Regions from separate parts of the Homo sapiens genome. Here regions 1 and 3 are each linked to region 2. The links are contacts of gene promoters, found by promoter capture Hi-C in human tissues and cell types (Jung and others, 2019). All regions are on one chromosome and are shown on one strand. Each heading gives the region's core, a stretch centred on a gene start or on the middle of the fragment in contact. The rest is flanking DNA. Distances are from core to core; before and after follow the strand shown.

Region 1 (2,799 bases), core at 58-2,557, 920 kb before region 2:
CTTATTTTATTATTTTTTAAATGTATTAAAAAATCATAAACAAGATTGGTTGTCTGTGATTTAAAACAAAGAAATTCCCCAGCACTCAAAAGCTAAAGTGTTCTAACCTGAACCGTATTGAGTCCCACACGTGAGCGTGGTGGCTCACTCCTGTAATCCCAGCACATTGGGAGGCCAAGGCGGGTGGATCAGACTTAGGTCAGGAGTTCAAGACCAGCCTGGCCAACATGGGGAAACCCTGTCTCTACTAAAAATATAAAAAATTAGCTGGACATGATGGCGCATGGCTGTAGTCCCAGCTACTTGGGAGGCTGAGGCATGAGAACAGCTTGAACCTGAGAGACAGAGGTTGCAGTGAGCCGAATTCGTGCCACTGCACTCCAGCCTGGGCGACACAGTGAGACTCCATCTCAAAACAAAAAACAAACAAAAAACTTCCCATTAGAGTGTTGGATCTCAGTCTGTGTCCACATGAACTTAAAGTGTCATATTGTTCCTCTGAAATGTCTTAGGGACAATTTATTGGTGGTTGGATTGAATTCTTTACTATTTGCCTTCAGCCATCTTGGAAGCTAAGACATAGGATCCTGTCTTTATCATAGGTAGCCTGTTTGTGCACTTAATATGAAAAAGAGGAGGGGGAAACCCTTTTTCCAAACGCAGAATCCATTTAAGCTTTGGAGGTTATAAATTTCAAAGTGATCACAGGCCCCTGGGGCTCACACTCTTTTATGGCTGGCAAAATACAACTTTCTGGTAAGAATGGGGAAAAGAAGGCTTTAAAAGGCTCATAAACTTGCTTGGACATCTAATAGCTCTTACCAAACAGCATTCTCATGAGTTAAGTGTAAATGAGTCAGAAACACATAGATCAAATTTCTTTTAAAATACACATGGGTTTGAAAATTAAGGCCAAAGTGCTTGGCAAAATAAGTTTTGGTTTTATCCAAACCCAAATGTTGAAAAAATAATTCTAAGATTTGCCAAACCAAAAATACATGCAGATCTCTTCAATCCTCCCATTAAATAAGATGGCATCATAAACATGGGACTTAGTGGCTATTTTCATAATCCCCAAGGTTTAGGCAACATGGACCTTAAATATTGATTGAAAGACTATGAAAAATTTTTGGTGGAAAAACATTATAACCTTGCAAATGAAGATGAGGGCTACTGGTTCAGGGTTCTCATCCTGATTTTGACAGCACTTCTCACTGTCCGATCAGGTGATCAACTTGTCCTTTGTCTTAGCTCTGGGTGTGTGTGTGTGCATGTGTGTGTGTGGCCTATGCATAGCAATAATAACTTTTAAAATCCTATTTTTGGATTTTATAAATCCTAAATGTATACTTAATTCATATATTACAATCTGCGAAACTTAATAACTCCTCATCATATCCAAACAGAGGGAAGCAGTCCCCTTTTGCTCATTCATAGTTCAGAGATAGTCTTCATTTATTTCCCTAGAGGGTAAAACATATCCATTTTGCACTAACAATATCTAATGCTGACTTTGCTCAGGTCTGTGTTATTAAAAGATGAGAGAGAGAGAGGGAAAGAGAGAAAAGAAAAAAAGTAGGGGAGGGTGTGTGGCAGGAGTCCTTGACTTGATTTGAAGAACTAATAACCTACTGAGAGACAAAAAAAAAAGCCAAGGTCACTTTTACAAGCAACATGCAGAACCTGCAAACTGATGTGACACTGCAGACAGTAGGCTTCGCAAGAGCAGGGACCGGGTCCAGTTCACTCATTGTTGTAACCAAGTGCCTAGCACAGGGGCTGGAAGAATGAGCACACAAGTATTCAGTGATCACATGAATGAAAGCGTCTCCATAGAGGAACAGCTAATGAAGCTGCCTTGATGTAGTGCCTTCTGGTCGATGAATTCTGAATTCTGAACCTGAGGAGGGATGTGGGCTGGCGATCAGGGGTGGAGAAATGAGGGGTGAAGTAGCATGTTAAAGGGCACAGACACAGAAAAGAGCAAGCTGTATTAGGGATGACCTTCCGGTTCACTTGGCTGGAACAAAGGGCTTGACCACAGAGGGTGAGAAGCATGAGGCTGGAGGAGAGTGGGAAGGTGGTAGAACAGGAGTTTGGGGAATTTGTACTCAATACATTGGGCAACGTCACTGTGGCCTCAAGCACAAGAATGACAAGATGAAATCTGTGTTTGAGGAAAATTACTTGAGCAGCTCTTTGTAGACTGAAAGACTGACATTGCTAAAGCTGATGGTTGCATTCTGATGGCAGGCTAATTGCCAGCAGTTGATTCTAAACATTGCAGAACGTCATCGCTGGAGTGCGAGGGACATGCGCTGCCAGATCTATGGGTTAAGTATGGAAAGCCATTGTCTCTGGACAGTGAGAAGAACTTTCTTTGTGCTAAGTGGGCCTAAGGAAATGTCACAATGCACGGTGGAAGGAAATCTCACAATCAACAGACCATTCCAGGATCTAAAGAAGGAAGATGCTGGCTTGGCTCCAGATGGCCACAGAAACAGAGGCCCCACCCTTCTGACCAACCAGCAGCTCTGAGCCTTAAGCCAGCAGGGAAGGGCAGATGTGGGCTGCTGTTTCATGCATGCACAGAGGCAGGCCCTGGCTCTTGCAGCAGCGGACTTCACGAATGTGGAATGTGGAGGTTACACAGCGATGCCTAGACTGTCTGTCCTTAGACCGAAGGGCAGCAGAAAGGCTCAGGGGGCTTGCTCTATATTCCTTAGACATCTCCGGAGATTTTCTCAGCATCAGAATCAGATCCTCCCATGGCCTGCGGCTACTTTTAAGAAAGTTTGG
Region 2 (2,700 bases), core at 29-2,528:
AGCCGGGCCGCGCAGGCGCGCGCGAGCTCACACACGCGCACTCACACACGCACGCCCGCCGCGCGCCCGGCCCGCCGCCCAGCCCGCCGCCCAGCCCTCCCCCTGGGCGGGGACCCGCCCGCCGTCAGCCTAGGTTGAGGCGCCCTGCGTGTGTCTATAACTTTGTGCTGCTGCCGCGGCCGCCCTGCTCGTGGAAGGGAGGAGGAGGAATGTGGAAGGTGGCGGCGCGCGAGCTGACAGGCGGTTCCTCGGGCGGGCTGCGGCGACGGCCCGAGCGCTTCTCCTTCGCCGAGGTTGCGCGCCCCCTCCTCGCCGTGCCCCGGGCCCGCGCGGGATCGTGCGTCGTCCCGCCGCGTCCCTGAAGGGAAGGAAGCGAGGTAGGCGCCGGAGCCGTGCAGCGGGCGGCCGCCTTCCCGGTGACTCCGGATCTGCTTCCGAGCTGGGCCGGGCGCTTCCCTTTCCCCTCCCTGAGCCGCGGTGTGCGCGCCCCCCTTCTCGCCCGCTAGTGTTTTTAAAGGACTCGGGAAGGGGGAAACTGTCAAGATGGCAGCAGCGGGAGCAAGGAGGTGATGAACGTGCTGGTCCGGGTTTTCTAGCAGCCCGGGAGACTTGGCGCTTCCCGACCTGTTGGAAGATTTATGTTCCGACTCGCTCCCTCCCCCGGATCCCGACTGGGAAGGGGGCGGAGGGGACGACGTCCGCGAGAATGCAAACCACACAAAACCCCGAAGTGGCCGTCCCCGCCGGGCTCGAACCTCTGCGAACACCCGCTGGGCTGCTGCTCCCCCTTCTTTCTGTCTTTCCTTTATTTTTTGGAAGTGACAAGGGCCCATCTGCGCCCAGACCCCCGTTCGCCCTCTGGCCCGCGGGCGAAGAGGGGAGAGGGAGCTGCCCGCGCAGTCCCCGGGCTCGGGCCATTCGACCGGGTGGGGGGTGACGGGGGGTCGCGGAGGCGGCCAGGCTAGGAAAGGGGAGAAGAGCCGAAGACAGCACAGACTTGAGCGGCGGCGCCGCGGGAGGCACTAGAGCGGGCCCGAGCGAAACATAAACAAACGCACGCACACCCGAGCTCGGGCTCTGACCGCGGCTCGGCTGCGCCAGCTCCGGCCGCTGCCCGCTTTAAAGGCGCGGCCGCCCCTCCCCCGGGCGCCCCTCCCCCTTCTCCCCGCCCCGCCGCCTAGCCCGGGAGGGACCTGCGGCTGGGCGGCGGGGGGAGGGGGCTGCCCCGCGCGAGGCCGTCGATTCGCTCGCGGCTCCATCGCGGCCTGGCCGGGGGGCGGTGTCTGCTGCGCCAGGTTCGCTGGCCGCACGTCTTCAGGTCCTCCTGTTCCTGGGAGGCGGGCGCGGCAGGACTGGGAGGTGGCGGCAGCGGGCGAGGACTCGCCGAGGACGGGGCTCCGGCCCGGGATAACCAACTCTCCTTCTCTCTTCTTTGGTGCTTCCCCAGGCGGCGGCGGCGGCGCCCGGGAGCCGGAGCCTTCGCGGCGTCCACGTCCCTCCCCCGCTGCACCCCGCCCCGGCGCGAGAGGAGAGCGCGAGAGCCCCAGCCGCGGGCGGGCGGGCGGCGAAGATGGCAGAGGCACCGGCTTCCCCGGCCCCGCTCTCTCCGCTCGAAGTGGAGCTGGACCCGGAGTTCGAGCCCCAGAGCCGTCCGCGATCCTGTACGTGGCCCCTGCAAAGGCCGGAGCTCCAAGCGAGCCCTGCCAAGCCCTCGGGGGAGACGGCCGCCGACTCCATGATCCCCGAGGAGGAGGACGATGAAGACGACGAGGACGGCGGGGGACGGGCCGGCTCGGCCATGGCGATCGGCGGCGGCGGCGGGAGCGGCACGCTGGGCTCCGGGCTGCTCCTTGAGGACTCGGCCCGGGTGCTGGCACCCGGAGGGCAAGACCCCGGGTCTGGGCCAGCCACCGCGGCGGGCGGGCTGAGCGGGGGTACACAGGCGCTGCTGCAGCCTCAGCAACCGCTGCCACCGCCGCAGCCGGGGGCGGCTGGGGGCTCCGGGCAGCCGAGGAAATGTTCGTCGCGGCGGAACGCCTGGGGAAACCTGTCCTACGCGGACCTGATCACCCGCGCCATCGAGAGCTCCCCGGACAAACGGCTCACTCTGTCCCAGATCTACGAGTGGATGGTGCGTTGCGTGCCCTACTTCAAGGATAAGGGCGACAGCAACAGCTCTGCCGGCTGGAAGGTGCGTACCCACCCCGGGCTGGCAGCAGGACCCGCCGGGCCTCCTGCGCAGCGCGAGACGCGTCTCGGATTCGTCGGAGTGCGCTTGCGGGCTCCAGGGCAAGGGGTTGGCAGGGGGAGCCTCCGCTGCGAGGCTTTGGGGGTTATCTTTGATCCCCGGAGTCGGGGCACCTGGGGACGGTCTCGGAGGGGTGAATGAGGCTCCCCAGAAGCTTGGGGCATGGCCAGGTGAGGAGAGGGGGCAGGGGACGCCGGCGAGGGAAGGGCGAACGGACAGGAGTACATTTGCTGGATTCTCCGGACAGCACCGAGGAGGTAGGTCCGCAGCCAACTTTGGAGTAGAGTTTACCGTAGTGGGGGTCTGGTGCGGGCGCTGTGGCTGGAGTGAGAGGTGTGGGGGTGTTTGGGACGCAGTGTCTGGAGGAGGGGTTGGATGTGTGGTTTCCAGTCTGTCGCAGGAGCATGTTGCGTCGTCACTAGCTGAATGAGAACCTTCGGGTCCAAGTTTCA
Region 3 (3,008 bases), core at 1-2,500, 530 kb after region 2:
CTCAAAAAACAAAAAGAATCCTTTATTATACCCAAGATTCCACAGCTACTTTCTGTCAGACCAAAGTTTCAACAATCCTTAAGTTAGCAGTTTGAATTATTAATTACCTATTCAAATGGTAAAAAGATATTTTGCAAATTTCTCATGGCTTATCAAGAGAAAAATAAATATAACTCTAAACAAAGACAACAGTACACCTACTTTCTAATTCTTTTACTTCATGAATGGTCTGCACATACAGCACCTTTAAGGACACAAAGTGTTGAAAATGAGAAAAAATTCTAATTAAGCCATTGTTTTAGAGGATCCTTCATGATGTCATGAACAACCCATGATCTTAAAGTAAAATTTACTATGCAAGTGTTTAACATCTTTGTACAAAATACTATATCCCATTTGTAAACAAAATAACTATGTTAGAAAAATATTTTTTAAATGAATCAGTTTTTTTCATGTTAGAGGCCAATGGGGGCACTCCAACAGGAATAAAATAGATGAAATCAGGCCGGGCACTGTGGCTCATGCCCGTAATCCCAGCACTTTGGGAGGCCGAGATGGGTGGATCACAAGGTCAGGAGTTCAAGACCAGCCTGGCCAACATGGTGAAACCCTGTCTCCACTAAAAATAGAAAAATTAGCTGGGCGTGGTGGCGCCCACCTGTAATCCCAGCTACTCAGGAGGCTGAGGCAGGAGAATTGCTTGACCCGGGAGGCAGAGGTTGCAGTGAGCCAAGATCGTGCCACTGCACTACAGCCTGGGCGACAGAGCAAGACAGCATCTCAAAATAAATAAATAAACAAAAATAAATAAAATAAAATAGACGAAATCTGAACACATAAAGAGTACTGTTGTTAATTTTGATCTTTCTGAAGAGTCAAAACATAGGACAGGATGTATTTATATATTATAAAGAAGACACTGAGTATAGATAGTACAGATATGATTCCTCCTGTAAGTCAGAAAGTGAAAAAAAATTGGCTGTCTTCAAACAATTTAGAAAAAAAAAGTTAAAGATTTGCCTTCAGTTTCTTCACATTCTTTATCCAAAGAAGGACAGAAAACCTGAGAATAAAGAATATTCTCTGAGCCTCAAAAGCAAGGAAGGAAAGTGGTCAAAGACACGAATGAGAGGAGGCAATGAGAAGTAAGCCACAAGGCTTTCTGAGGGAAAGGGACCGAGTTCACAACGTATCAATAAAATAAGAAAGGCCAGAAAATAGTGGTATGGAAGAGAGAAGCTTAGTGTAAATATTGAAAGAGGACTCTCATATTTGCTGTGATATCTAAGAGTCAGCAGTGAATGTTTGACATGCACTACCTTAGACTTTTGGCTCCACTAAATGGCAGTTAAAAAAAAATCAAAACAAAACAATCATTTAAAAAGACCAAATCTGCTTCTAGAATGTCTCCAATCTGTTATATTTTATAGCCCCACTAAAAATGAATTAAGTATGCTTCTAATCTAATCGGATCCAAATTATAAATAGACCAAGTGATATATTATCTAGTTAGATACACATGCAGTTTTAATGGAAGCCTCTAATTAGGCCTGACTGCCTTCTGTACTGCTTCTCCTCATCGAGAAATTTTCTGTTCAAGTGATGGGGGGGCAGGGGGCGGGTCTCCTGGTCCTTAGGGGCTGAATGCTGATTAGTCCAAACCAAAAATAGAAATGCCCAATTTCTTCATCAATGACTGGCTTAGAAAAGGGCATGTGACCCAATCCCAGTCAATAGAAACTGAGAGGAAGTCTGCTAGAGGGTTTCTGGGAAAGGTTTTCTTCCCCGAGAGAGAGACGTGGGAAGAAACTCTTTTCTTCTTAGCTGCAGATAGTCATGTCTGCACATGGTGCCTGGAATAGCATGCTGTAGGAATGGAGACATCATTTGCTATGCTGAGGAAGGAGAACAAAAAAAAGAAAGCAGACAAGTAATGTAGTTGAGCCAATGAATCAATCAAGCTTGGAACTGCCAACCTCCAGACTTATTATGTGAAATAATAAACTTATTGTTACATTTTCAATCTATTTATTACTCAATTGGATAGCAACTAGATACTGCAACTCCAACTGTAACTCTAACAGCTATAAATGTGCATCCTACCCAGCAACGAAAGTTTCATTTCTCCTGGAGGTGGGGGGGTAATAATCACTTTACTAAATGAAAGCCTCCACCACCCCACTTACCAAAGATAAGTATTTTGTTGCTTATTCTAAATTTTCTATCTTAAGCCAATTTACTTTCAGACAATATTGATTGCTGGCAAACTTATGAAAATGACCAAATGACCATTCTTGGAAAAGTACTTGGCTATTCTGGATAGGCCTCAAAATCTTTTGATACATATGTGCTCTCATATTTTCCTCCTTAATTACATGTATCATCAAGACTATAGTTCACCAGTAGACTATATTAGGAAAGTGGGCCAGTATTAATACTCCCATTCCTTTGTTTAGAGAATCAAGAGTATCAAAAGGTGTAATTCTTCTTTTTAAAGTTTCTTTAAAAACCCAGTATAAAGCCTTGGATGAGAATAGAAAACCTTCTTCAAAAGCAGGAAACAAGTCTTACTGATCTTCAAGTCCTAAGTACAGTGACTGCCTGGCCCAGAATATTTCTCAAAAATGTGAATATATTTAAACATGCTGATGTGGAATCAATAAATTGAGAACTGGGGTATAAACAAAAGATGCTATCTCCCAATGTGTCCATTTTTTTTTTTTTTAACAGATTTAGCTGCTTGGAATTGAATTCATTCTACCACCTTGTCATCGTTTCTCCCTTGCCAACTACAGCCCTTTTAGCTGACCTATAGCAATTAAGGGCTTTCAGGAGCAGCTGCAGAAATTGCATATGCACCACAGCTTTTGCTGCTTTACTAATGAATAACAGAAAGCATTATGGAGTGCTACATTTGAATTAATATTTGCTTTCTCATGTGAGGCTGATGCTAAAATGGTAGGCAGTGAAGCTGGAGAGGTAAGTGAAAGCCAGATAATGCTGGGTAC

The links. Contacts are between HindIII fragments. The study calls those that stand out against the background at their distance.
Region 1: a contact is called between a fragment that was not itself captured here and the fragment with the promoter of FOXO3 in region 2, in 1 of the 25 tissues and cell types used here (dorsolateral prefrontal cortex).
Region 3: a fragment that was not itself captured here is called in contact with the fragment with the promoter of FOXO3 in region 2 in 2 of the 25 tissues and cell types used here (aorta and dorsolateral prefrontal cortex).

The regions. Positions count from the first base shown.
Region 1 is chr6:107,643,892-107,646,690 of GRCh38, forward strand. The region is part of intron 6 of SOBP (sine oculis binding protein homolog); the gene reads left to right. Among named protein-coding and RNA genes, the nearest start is that of SOBP, 160 kb to the left of the region's middle. The HindIII fragment of the contact is 4,361 bases long and covers 1-2,799 here.
Region 2 is chr6:108,559,639-108,562,338 of GRCh38, forward strand. FOXO3 (forkhead box O3) reads left to right here and starts at 1,279. Exons shown (of 3, transcript NM_001455.4): 1 at 1,279-2,191. The coding sequence starts at 1,571. RefSeq lists silencers at 1-3, 44-113, 1,093-1,312 and an enhancer at 1,756-2,256. The HindIII fragment of the contact is 10,207 bases long and covers 1-2,700 here.
Region 3 is chr6:109,086,349-109,089,356 of GRCh38, forward strand. All of the region lies in intron 1 of SESN1 (sestrin 1), which reads right to left. Among named protein-coding and RNA genes, the nearest start is that of SESN1, 7.0 kb to the right of the region's middle. The HindIII fragment of the contact is 4,774 bases long and covers 1-3,008 here.